2 separate regions of the Homo sapiens genome follow, and region 1 is linked to region 2. The links are contacts of gene promoters, found by promoter capture Hi-C in blood cells and fetal thymus (Javierre and others, 2016). All regions are on one chromosome and are shown on one strand. The core of a region is centred on a gene start or on the middle of the fragment in contact, and the rest is flanking DNA. Distances in the headings are between cores, read along the strand shown. Region 1 overlaps LOC105375118 (a long non-coding RNA gene). Region 2 holds the start of PRKAR1B-AS1 (PRKAR1B antisense RNA 1).

Region 1 (5,012 bases), core at 2,199-4,698, 270 kb before region 2:
AGTGGTTGTGAGGACGGCGTGAGTCCACAGTGTGGGGTAGAGCAGACGGCTTCCAGTGCCCCACCCAGCCCCTCTCCCTTCACCCACTGTCTCTGCCCCACACACCTCCTGGCCCCAGCCCCCACACCCCACCTCCCCCCTCTCCAGCTGCATAGACCTCCCTCCCTCCAGCCGAAAGCATTCCTAGCTCCTGATCATCTTAAAAATAAAACCTGAATGCCTTGTGCAGGGGCAAGCTCCCTTCCATCCGGCCCTGAGTTCCAGCTCTGGCTCCACTGTTCAAGCGTCCGTCCCCCACCCATCCGTCTCTGTGTGCTTGGGCCAAGCTGCCCACAACCCCTCTTCCAAAGGAGCCGTGATTCCCTCACATTCGTCACACAGTCCTCTCCCCTGGCCGTGTGCTCACACAGTCCTCTCCCCTGGCCGTGTTCTCACATAGCCCAGGCATCCAATCAGGGTGCTCCTCATGCAGACTGCAGGGACAGACACATCCTCTCTCCTGGGCAGGGTGGGATATGCGATGTGAAGCCTGGCACTGCAGCAGCTATTTTGTGCCCATGAGGAAGAGCTGGCTTTGGAATAAGGCCAACTATGCAGAGGGCAGAGATGGAAAGAAATTGAGGCCGTGACAGCCTCGTTGAGCCGCTGGGTCAAGCCAAGCCTGAACGCCACCTGCCTCCAGACCTCCCGGCATCAGTCCGTTCCCTCTCAGTGAAGGCAGTTGATTTGTCTTTTCTGTTCCATGCAGCCCATTGCTTCCTAACTCATTTCTTCCCCTCATCTGCACCTGTAGCTGGTTTCTGTCCTTGTGCTGTTTTCCTGGATACCCCAGGCACTGCGTGGCCTGCTGTCTGTGTGTCCAGCCCACTCACTCCCTGTCCTTCCCACCAGCTAGCTGGCACTTATGGCCAAGTTTCCAGAGACCCACAGAGGTGGCCACTGCTCAGAAACAAGGCTTGTTCCTGGGGCGGTTGAGACAGAGATGGGCGCTGGTCCCCGTGTGAAGCTGTGGATACACCAGTGGGCAGCTGTCATGTTCAGACCCAGGACCCAGTACCCGGCGTGGCCGCCCTGGCTGTCGTCACGGCTTCTTTTAAGGGGGCAGAGCAGATTGGCACAGATGTCAGGGGCCCATGCATGTCCCTTGGCCTGGGGGACTTAGAAGTTTTCTCTGTATTTGGTTTCCCCTCTCTCAGCACTTTCTAATATACAGACTAAAACCCCAACTCACTGGGAGGCCAGGATATCAACGGGCTGGAGATTTATGAGGGAAGAGCCGGGTCCCACCAGCAGGCACTAATAGCTCCCTAATTCCTGTCATTAGTTAACGAGAGCCCCTAGGTTCTCTCTACACAGCAGCTCGAATGTAATTACCAGCTGGGAGTGCTGGGCACACAGGCCTTGTGTCCTGTGTTTTGCAAAATTCCCTGAAATGCACTTCATGATTCTGGAAGCTTCAGTCGGCTTGCAATTACAAGTAGCCCTTATTAAAAATCCATGCAGCCTCCCACATCAAACAAAATTAATCAGTAACAAGCTGTAAGGCTATTAGGTCATTTCCCAACACAGAGCAACTCAGGAGTGGCCCTATCTGATTGGCCCATGCACGGAGGCAGGAATTCTCCCATGTTTCTCTGAATGCCGTGAGCCTGACATGAGATGTTTGTCTTTGCTTGAATTACGTTTGGGTGTTATTCTGCTGAATCTATTCCCATTGGCCTGGCAGGCTCACTTTGCAGCGCACACACCACCAAGATGGTCATCTCATTTTGGCCAAGAGCATGAGGAAACATGTGGTCCCTGTTAGGGGAGGACCTCAGGTGTGGCCCTCCTCACCTCAGCCAGGGGGCCGAGCAGGAGCTGTGAGACAGGGTCCTGCCCAGTCTCCCCGCACCCACCTTGCCCTTTGCATGCAGCTCTGGCGCACAGGCAGCCAGGATGAGTCCTTTCAGCAGGCGCTTTGAATCTCATAGCCACTGTCCTTCCCGTCCACCTGGCCCATCCCGGCCCGCCAGGCACCTGCACTGTCGGGTCTCTGCCGGCCTCTATGCCTGGCTCTTCACTCTGCCCACTGGCTGCCCCATGGTGGCCACAGCGACATCTCCCAGCCCAGCCAGGGGCTCTTCTTATGAGAGACTGATAGGAAGGTGGGGTCCAGGCCCCTGCCCTGGCCTCCAGGGTGGGCTTGTGGCAACGGCAGAAACCATCTGCGTGACTTGTGGGGTCTGAAGTCACGGGAGGCGTCGGTGTCAGCCTGGTCTCTGGGAACAGGCACGTGCAACCCCGAGCTGTCCAGTTAGCCGTCTGGATGCTCCGAGGCCACCGTGCTGTGAAACTATCGCACGTGGAGAAGCCCTGAGACCATGGGGAGAGAGAGAGATGCCCGCCTGCCCGCCACGGCTCCCAGGCAGAGCCTTGGCTCATTCTAATCTCTCTGCCTGGACCTCTCCTCCCCGCTGTCTCCACGCGGCCGGCCCCTTTGCATTCTTCACCTCTCTGCTCAGATGCCACCTCCCCTTCATATCACCCTCTGTGAGGGAAACGCCGGCCCCATGGTCCCCCACAACTCCCTCCCTCAATGTCCCGTTCATTCCCTCTTGTGGGGTGATGCTGGTCACAATTCACGCTCCCATATTCACTTGCTGACTTGGGTATTGTCTGCTTCCCCAGCCAGAACATGGTTTCCCACACCTGCCTGGTTCTCTGTTGCTTGCCCGGGGTGCCTGGTACGCAGGACACGCTCAGGATCATGGCCCACTGCCCCGCTGCCCGGACAGGTGCGTAGAGGGATGGTGGCCATTCCCCTCCGCCTCTGTTTCTGTTGAAGACTCTCCTACCCAAGGTTTTACCCTTGAAGGAAATCTTTGCCACTTCGTTGGGCCAGTAAAATGTCATTTTTTTTTAAGTACTGGAGAGGAGGGTATGTTTTTCCTGTGTTCATCGTGGGTGTTCCTTTTTTCTCTTAGAAATTGCTTGGCCAGTCCTCTGCCCATGTTCCTGTCGGCCACAGTCCCCTTTCAACCCACCCTGCTGCCACCCGGAAGGCCTGAACGCCAGCGCCCGTGATGACCTCGGTGCCTGCCCCTCACCTGGGGCCGCCCACCTGTCCCCACCCAGGCTGTGTCTTTGTGTCTCTCTATGTCTTTTTCAATCAATTTTGAACAACTTAAAAGCGAGGATTGATTGAATCTTCTACTCTCTTGTCCCTGCAACACCCAACATGGCAGCTTCATTCCGACAATATTGTGAGGACGATATAGAGGCTCAGTAAGCACTTGCTATTTGCTCGGTTGGTTGGTTAACTTCGTTTAGTTTCCCGTAGCTCTGGCCTCAGTTAGCAAAGTTAATGACATTAAATAGCATATTTTAGCAGTAGCAAAAACAACAAACTTCTAGGAATAAGCCTAATAAGAAATATGCAGGACATCGGTCGGGCGTGGTGGCTCACACCTGTAGTCCCAGCACTTTGTGAGGTCGAGGCAGGCGGATCACCTGAGGTCAGGAGTTCAAGACCAACCTGGCCAACATGGTGAAACCCCATCTCTACTAAAAATACAAAAATCATCCGGGCGTGGTGGCATGCGCCTGTAATCCCAGCTACTGGGGAGACTGAGGCAGGAGAATCACTTGAATGAGGGAGGTGGAGGTTGCAGTGAGCCGAGGTTGTGCCACTGCACTCCAGCCTTGGAGACAGAGTGAGACTCCATCTAAAAAAAAAGAAAGAAAGAAAAGAAATATGCAAGACATACATTTAAAAATATTAAAATACTGCAAGCCAAAGTTAACAGATAGCCAACCAACTGAGGAAGAGGTATTAGCAACTCATACGGTAGACAAGATGCTACTTTCCCAAATACATTTAAAAAAACCCTCCTGAAAACAATGAGATAAAGACCAGCAAACTCATCAAAACATGAGTAAAGAACTTAAATGGGCAACTGGCTTTTTTTTTTTTTTTGACAGAGTCTCGCTCTGTCGCCCAGACTGGGGGGCAGTGGACCAATCTCGGCTCACTGCAAGCTCCACCTCCCGGGTTCACACCATTCTCCTGCCTCAGCCTCCCGAGTAGCTGGGACTACATGTTCCCGCCACCACGCCCGGCTAATATTTTGTATTTTTAGTAGAGACGGAGTTTCACCGTGTTAGCCAGGATGGTCTCAATCTCCCAACCTCGTGATCCACCCGTCTTGGCCTCCCAAAGTGCTGGGATTACAGGCGTGAGCCACAGCGCCGGCCGGCAACTGGCATTTTAACACATAGAAAGACACCCAACCACACTGGTAACAAGGAAACACAAATTGAAACTAAATGGAGGTTCCATTTTATGACGGGTCAGACTGGCAAAAAGCAAAATGCCAGGCAACCCTCAATGTTGACAGACTTGTGGGGAAGCAGGCGCTCTCGTACATAGCTGATGAAAGGACAAGTTAGCACAACGTTTATGGCCACGAAGTTGGCAACATCAATAAAAATGTAAATGCATCTGCCCTTTGGCCCGGCAATTCTGCTTATCCTATAGATACCATTGCGCACAGGTGAGGCCGTCTATGTGTGAAATTACTCACTGCAGCATTATTTACAATGGCCTAAAAGCCCGTTGATAAGAGGTTGTTATATAAATCATAATAGATCCATAAAGTGAAACACAACTGTAAGAAAAACGAGGAGGCTGGGCACAGTGGCTCACACCTGCAATCCCAGCACTTCGGGAGGCCTAGGCGGAACGCTGGGCAACATGACGAGACACCGTCTCTACAAAAATAAATTAACCGGGCATGGTGGTGTACACCTGTGCTCCCAGATACTCAAGAGGCTGAGGCGGCAGGATGGCTTCAGCCCAGGACGTTGAGGCTGCAGTGAGCTGTGACCGCATCACTGCACTCCAGCCTGGGCAAAAGAGAAAGACCCTGTCAAAAAACAAAAAAATAAAAAGGAGTCCACTTTTGGCTTCCATCAACCAGGTTGGAGAAAACAAATGACCACATGTGTCTCAATGTGTCAGAGAGTTACCA
Region 2 (4,862 bases), core at 2,363-4,862:
TGCGGGCCCCACCCCAGCTGGTACGCAAAGGGGCTACTTCTTGTTGTGTTTCATTTTTTTGTTTTCTCTCTTTTTTTTTTTTGAGATGGAGTTTCGCTCTTGTTCCTCAGGCTGGAGTGCAATGGTGCGATCTCGGCTCACCGCAACCTCTGCCTCCCAGGTTCAAGCGATTCTCCCGCCTCAGCCTCCCGGATTACAGGCAACTGCCACCACGCCCGGCTAATTTTGTATTTTTAGTAGAGACGGGGTTTCTCCATGTTGGTCAGGCTGGTCTCAAACTCCTGACCTCAGGTGATCCACCCACCTCGGCCTCCCAAAGTGCTGGGATTACAGGCGTGAGCCACCACGCCCAGCTTCTCTTCTTTTAAAAGAAAAAACAATGGGGGTCCCCCGCGGGGCAGCATTTACACCCCACCATCACTGCAGCTTCTCTGGCGCCGAGCTCACACCTGGCTCTGCCCTGCCCCCTGCCCACCTTCACTCGCTCACCCTCTGTGTTTAGAAGTCAATGGTGGGACAGAGGTGCCAGGAGCTGGGGGAGGCACATGGGCAGGCCCCCCATTCACCTTCACTCGCTCACCCTCTGTGTTTAGAAGTCAATGGTGGGACAGGGGTGCCAGGAGCTGGGGGAGGCACACGGGCAGGCCCCCCATTCACCTTCACTCGCTCACCCTCTGTGTTTAGAAGTCAATGGTGGGACAGGGGTGCCAAGAGCTGGGGGAGGCGCACGGGCAGGCCCCCCATTCACCTTCACTCGCTCACCCTCTGTGTTTAGAAGTCAATGGTGGGACAGGGGTGCCAGGAGCTGGGGGAGGCGCATGGGCAGGGAGTGTGTAATGTGGACAGAGCTTCAGTTTAAGAAGACAAGAACATTTGGGAAATGGACAGTGGTGACGGTTGTAAAACAACGTGAATATTCTTAATGCCACCGAACTGCACAAAATGGTTAGAATGGTCAGTGTGGTGTGTCTTTTACTACAATTAAAGTAGGGCCGAGGGCAGTGGCTCATACCTGTCATCACAGCACTTTGGGAAGCCCAGGCGGGAGGATTGCTTGAAGCCAGGAGTCTGAGACCAGCCTGGGCAACACAGCAAGACCCCGTCTCTATGAAAAACTTTAAAATTAGCTGGACGTGGTGGTGCACAGTGGTAGTCCCAGCTTCTCGGGAGGATCGCTTGAGCCCAGGAGTTCAAGGCTGCAATGAGCTATGATCACGCCACCGCACTCCCAGCCTGGGCGACAGAGCGAGACCCCATCTCAAAAAATTAAAAAACGAATTTTAAAAACACACAGAACACAAGACACAACCTGAATAACATCTGATCAGATCACCAAGCTGAGGCGCCCTGCTCCGGGGTACACCCAGCTGCCTGGCGGTGCTCCCCAGCCCCCCAGAAAGAGCTCTTCCCCCAGACGTGTTGTGTGAAACCGAGGGAAGCCCGGAACGGCCAGCGTCAGTGGGGACGTCGTGATGCCTGGGACGGGGAGCAAAAAGAGGGAGTCGGGATAACGGGCCCAAAAACAATCAGGGGAAGAGTCGAGCCCCAAACAGGGCTTGGAAGGGAGCTACGTTCCCAGGCCTGCAAAGTCAGCAGCTGAGTGTCCTTTTAAATAGAAATGCTATGTTCCATGAATAAAATACATTGGAAGATATTTTTATACTTAGAAAAATGGATTATAGCTCTTGGCAACACACGGACGGCAGCAGGCACTTTCGGAGTCTCTGGAAAACCGTAATTCAAACTGAACCTGGTGCTCTTGGCATTTTGTCACCTGGCCGTCCCCCTGGACGCTGCTGGTCAGAGGGCAGCGTCCACCCTGCAGAAGTGGGTGACGTCCACCTCCAAGCTCTGCTGGCTTAAAGGGCCAGGGCCAGGTCCTTGAGGGGACGGCTTCCTGATGGGCCTCCGGCACTTGGCCAGCGCAGTTAAATACCCACGGCAAACGGCCGTCCCTTCCCGCCACGCAGAATAAAACCAGGGAAAACCGCTAGCCTCAGAAACCCACTCGGACCCTGGGTAGCCGTAGTCCTGCAGCCCCGAACCCAGGGTACATCCATCCCATTGCCCCAGGGAGGCGATTTACAGAAACCAGCAAACAACATGCAGCACCCAGGGTTCACACAGCAGCTGGATGGGGCTGCCTGGGGCTGCCATGCGGCCGTTCCCCCGGGTGCTGTAATAACAGTAATTATTATAATACATATGCCCATAACTCACCCGGGCTACCCAACATGCCACTTTTTCATTCCAGATTCCTTACTGAGCATCCTTTGATTCCCTTAAATGTGGCCTTCACCCACACGGGCCCTGCGGATTTACCCTGCATGCGAAGGGCCTCCCACATCACAGGAGGGCCCCTGCAGGCAGCTCCTGCGCCCGGCCCCGCCCGGCCCCGCCGGGCACTCCCTGACGCCCACCCCTGCCCTGGCTGGAAAATCTGAAGTTGATGGAGGTGCTTGGTGTTCGTGCACAGCCGCCTGGGACTCACGGGACAGCCCCATAAGTCACAGCCGGTTCCCGCAGGGGGCCCGGCCATCCCACGTGAGCCTGTAGCCAGGAAGTGGGCATCCACCCACGGGGCTCAGACATCCTGGCTCTGGAGGGCCGGGTCCAGCAGAGGCCTTAAAGCTGCCTTTGTGCCTGACCCGGGGGGGCTGGGGAGGGGTAGGGACGGGCAGGGGGAGGCGCAGGGACGGGCAGGGGGATGGGGAGGGGGAAGGGGAGGGATTTGCCAGGACAATATATTTGGGGAACTCCAGTTACACGAGGGTGACCTCACTCTTTCCTTTCTCAAAATTGCCTCCCAACGTCCCCGGGCCTGGCGAGAAGCCAGGCAGGACGCCACGACGCGTCGTGTCTGAGAGAAAACCGTCTCCCCTCCACTCAGGCTTCAGCCCCGACCCCACGCTAACTGGGCCAGGGCAGGGGCTGGGCTGGGAGGGGACCCAGTGAGCTCAGGGCTGGAGGAAACGGTCCCTGCTTTGAAGTGGCTCCGGCACCGGCCTCTCCCACCACCCTGTCATGTATGAAGGAGTTACAGACGGCGGCGGGGGGAGGGGGGGTCTGTCCTGCTGGAAGGACGGAGGGAAGGGAGATGCCTCACTGAGTCCAGAGGTCGAGGGGTGGGTGGGGATTCTGCGAGGATGAGGAGGAGGAGGAGGAGGTCCCGCCAAGGTCAGCCGGGGCAGCAACACCTCCCGGCCCCTTTGCCGAGGTCCTGGCCCAGGTGGGGCTCCCGGGAGCCTGGAGGCCAACGGCGGAAAGACAGGGACCTGATCCCTCCAGCAGTCCCAGCCGCCGGCCCCTCACACCCTCACCTCTCCCAGGAAGTCCTCAGCATGCTGCCGGCTGGGGCCTGGCGCTGGGGCAGGAGGGTGGCCACCCGCGCTGAAGATGAGGACAAGCCCGGGGCGTGGGTGGTGGGCGTTTCCTCTGTGGGGTGGACGAGGCTCTTGCGGTGCGTGTGTTGGGGACATGAGACGGGGCGGGGCAGCTGCCAGGCGGCCAATGGCTTCCACACCAGGGGCCAAGAGCAGAACCCCAGGAGGGTTATCTCAGTCTTCCCGGCAGCAGTGAGCTCTGTTCGTTTTTCTGAGTAATATGGAAATGGCACGGCTCAGCCACACAAGGGCCTGGGCAAAGGTCACGGCCAGCAAAGAACACAGCCTGGGTCCTCTGAGTCCCGAGTCCACGCGATCCTGACCCGTCCACCACCCTCCTCGAGACACGACAAGTTAGGCGGGAACATAACCTGGGAGCCCCATGTCGGTTTCAGGCTCCACAAGGGATCTCTGGGTAAAGGGTTTGTCTCTTCCACATCTGTTCATTTAGGAGAAGCAAAGAACATGGAAAGCAGAATTCCTGGGGGTGGCCTCAACCCCAAGCCCTGCCGATGCAAACCGGCACCTTGAAGATGCCTTTGGAATTTAACTGGAAGATTTGAATGACATGGGCAGACACAGAAGAGGGAGAAGCATTCCACAGGGGAGGAAAGGCCTCAGTGGGGACCTATGGAGCTCCCAGGCCCACCGCAGGGAGGCAGGTCCTCGGTCATCTGCGGAGGTCAGTATCTATCAAAGCCCAGCCGCAGATAGATGAGCTGGGCCTGGCGGGGTCTTGTAGGATGTGTAGGAGTTTGTGAGGCAGAGCAGGAATGAAAGCAGAGGGGACAGGAGGGGCAGAACCAGAGTCAGGACATTCATTGGCTAATTTCCTGTTCTTGGTCCCTCTCCCCCATTAAGCCACAACCTCCCCCACACCAGAGCAGGCACCAGGTCCTCCTCGTCACAAGTGCCAGGCATAAAGCAGGCACTCAATAAACATCCAGGAAGGAGACGGCAGGGGAGGAGGCGACATGATGACTCCAGGACCCAGAGTGGAGGTGATGGGGGAGGAGGTGACACCAGGACCCAGAGTGGAGAGGGCAGGGGAGGAGGTGACACGGTGACACCAGGACCCAGAGTGGAGGGGATGGGGGAGGAGGTGACACCAGGATCCAGAGTGGAGAGGGTGGGGGAGGAGGTGACACCAGGACCCAGAGTGGAGGGGATGGGGGAGGAGGTGACACCAGGACCCAGAGTGGAGAGGGCGGGGGAGGAGGTGACATGGTGACACCAGGACCCAGAATGGACAGGGCGGGGGAGGAGGTGACACGGTGACACCAGGACCCAGAGTGTGAACTAGAAGAGGGGCTATAAGTAGTAGCATGAGATTTGGGGCTGGGATAAAGCGGTGGGTCCAGTCAGGAAGCTGCCCATCCCATACCTCCCGCAGAGGTGGCTCTGCCTTCAGCACTGCTGACCACTGGGCAGGCCTGGGCTGCCAGGGTCTCTCTGGGATCAGCCCTGCCCCATCTGCTG

What was found. Contacts are between HindIII fragments. The CHiCAGO score rates a contact against its expected background, and 5 or more counts as called.
Region 1: a contact is called between a fragment that was not itself captured here and the fragment with the promoter of PRKAR1B-AS1 in region 2, in 9 of 17 cell types (endothelial precursors, naive CD4 T cells, M0 macrophages and 6 more). The highest score is 7.6, in endothelial precursors.

Annotation. Positions count from the first base shown.
Region 1 is chr7:325,458-330,469 of GRCh38, forward strand. It overlaps LOC105375118 (a long non-coding RNA gene), which reads right to left. Exons shown (of 3, transcript XR_926965.4): 3 at 4,170-5,012. Among named protein-coding and RNA genes, the nearest start is that of FOXL3-OT1, 37 kb to the left of the region's middle. The HindIII fragment of the contact is 3,993 bases long and covers 1,453-5,012 here.
Region 2 is chr7:599,233-604,094 of GRCh38, forward strand. It overlaps PRKAR1B-AS1 (PRKAR1B antisense RNA 1), which reads left to right and starts at 3,613. Exons shown (of 2, transcript NR_110054.1): 1 at 3,613-4,065. The region is part of intron 6 of PRKAR1B (protein kinase cAMP-dependent type I regulatory subunit beta); the gene reads right to left. RefSeq lists silencers at 2,301-2,410, 3,151-3,210 and enhancers at 4,306-4,355, 4,416-4,862. The HindIII fragment of the contact is 9,643 bases long and covers 1-4,862 here.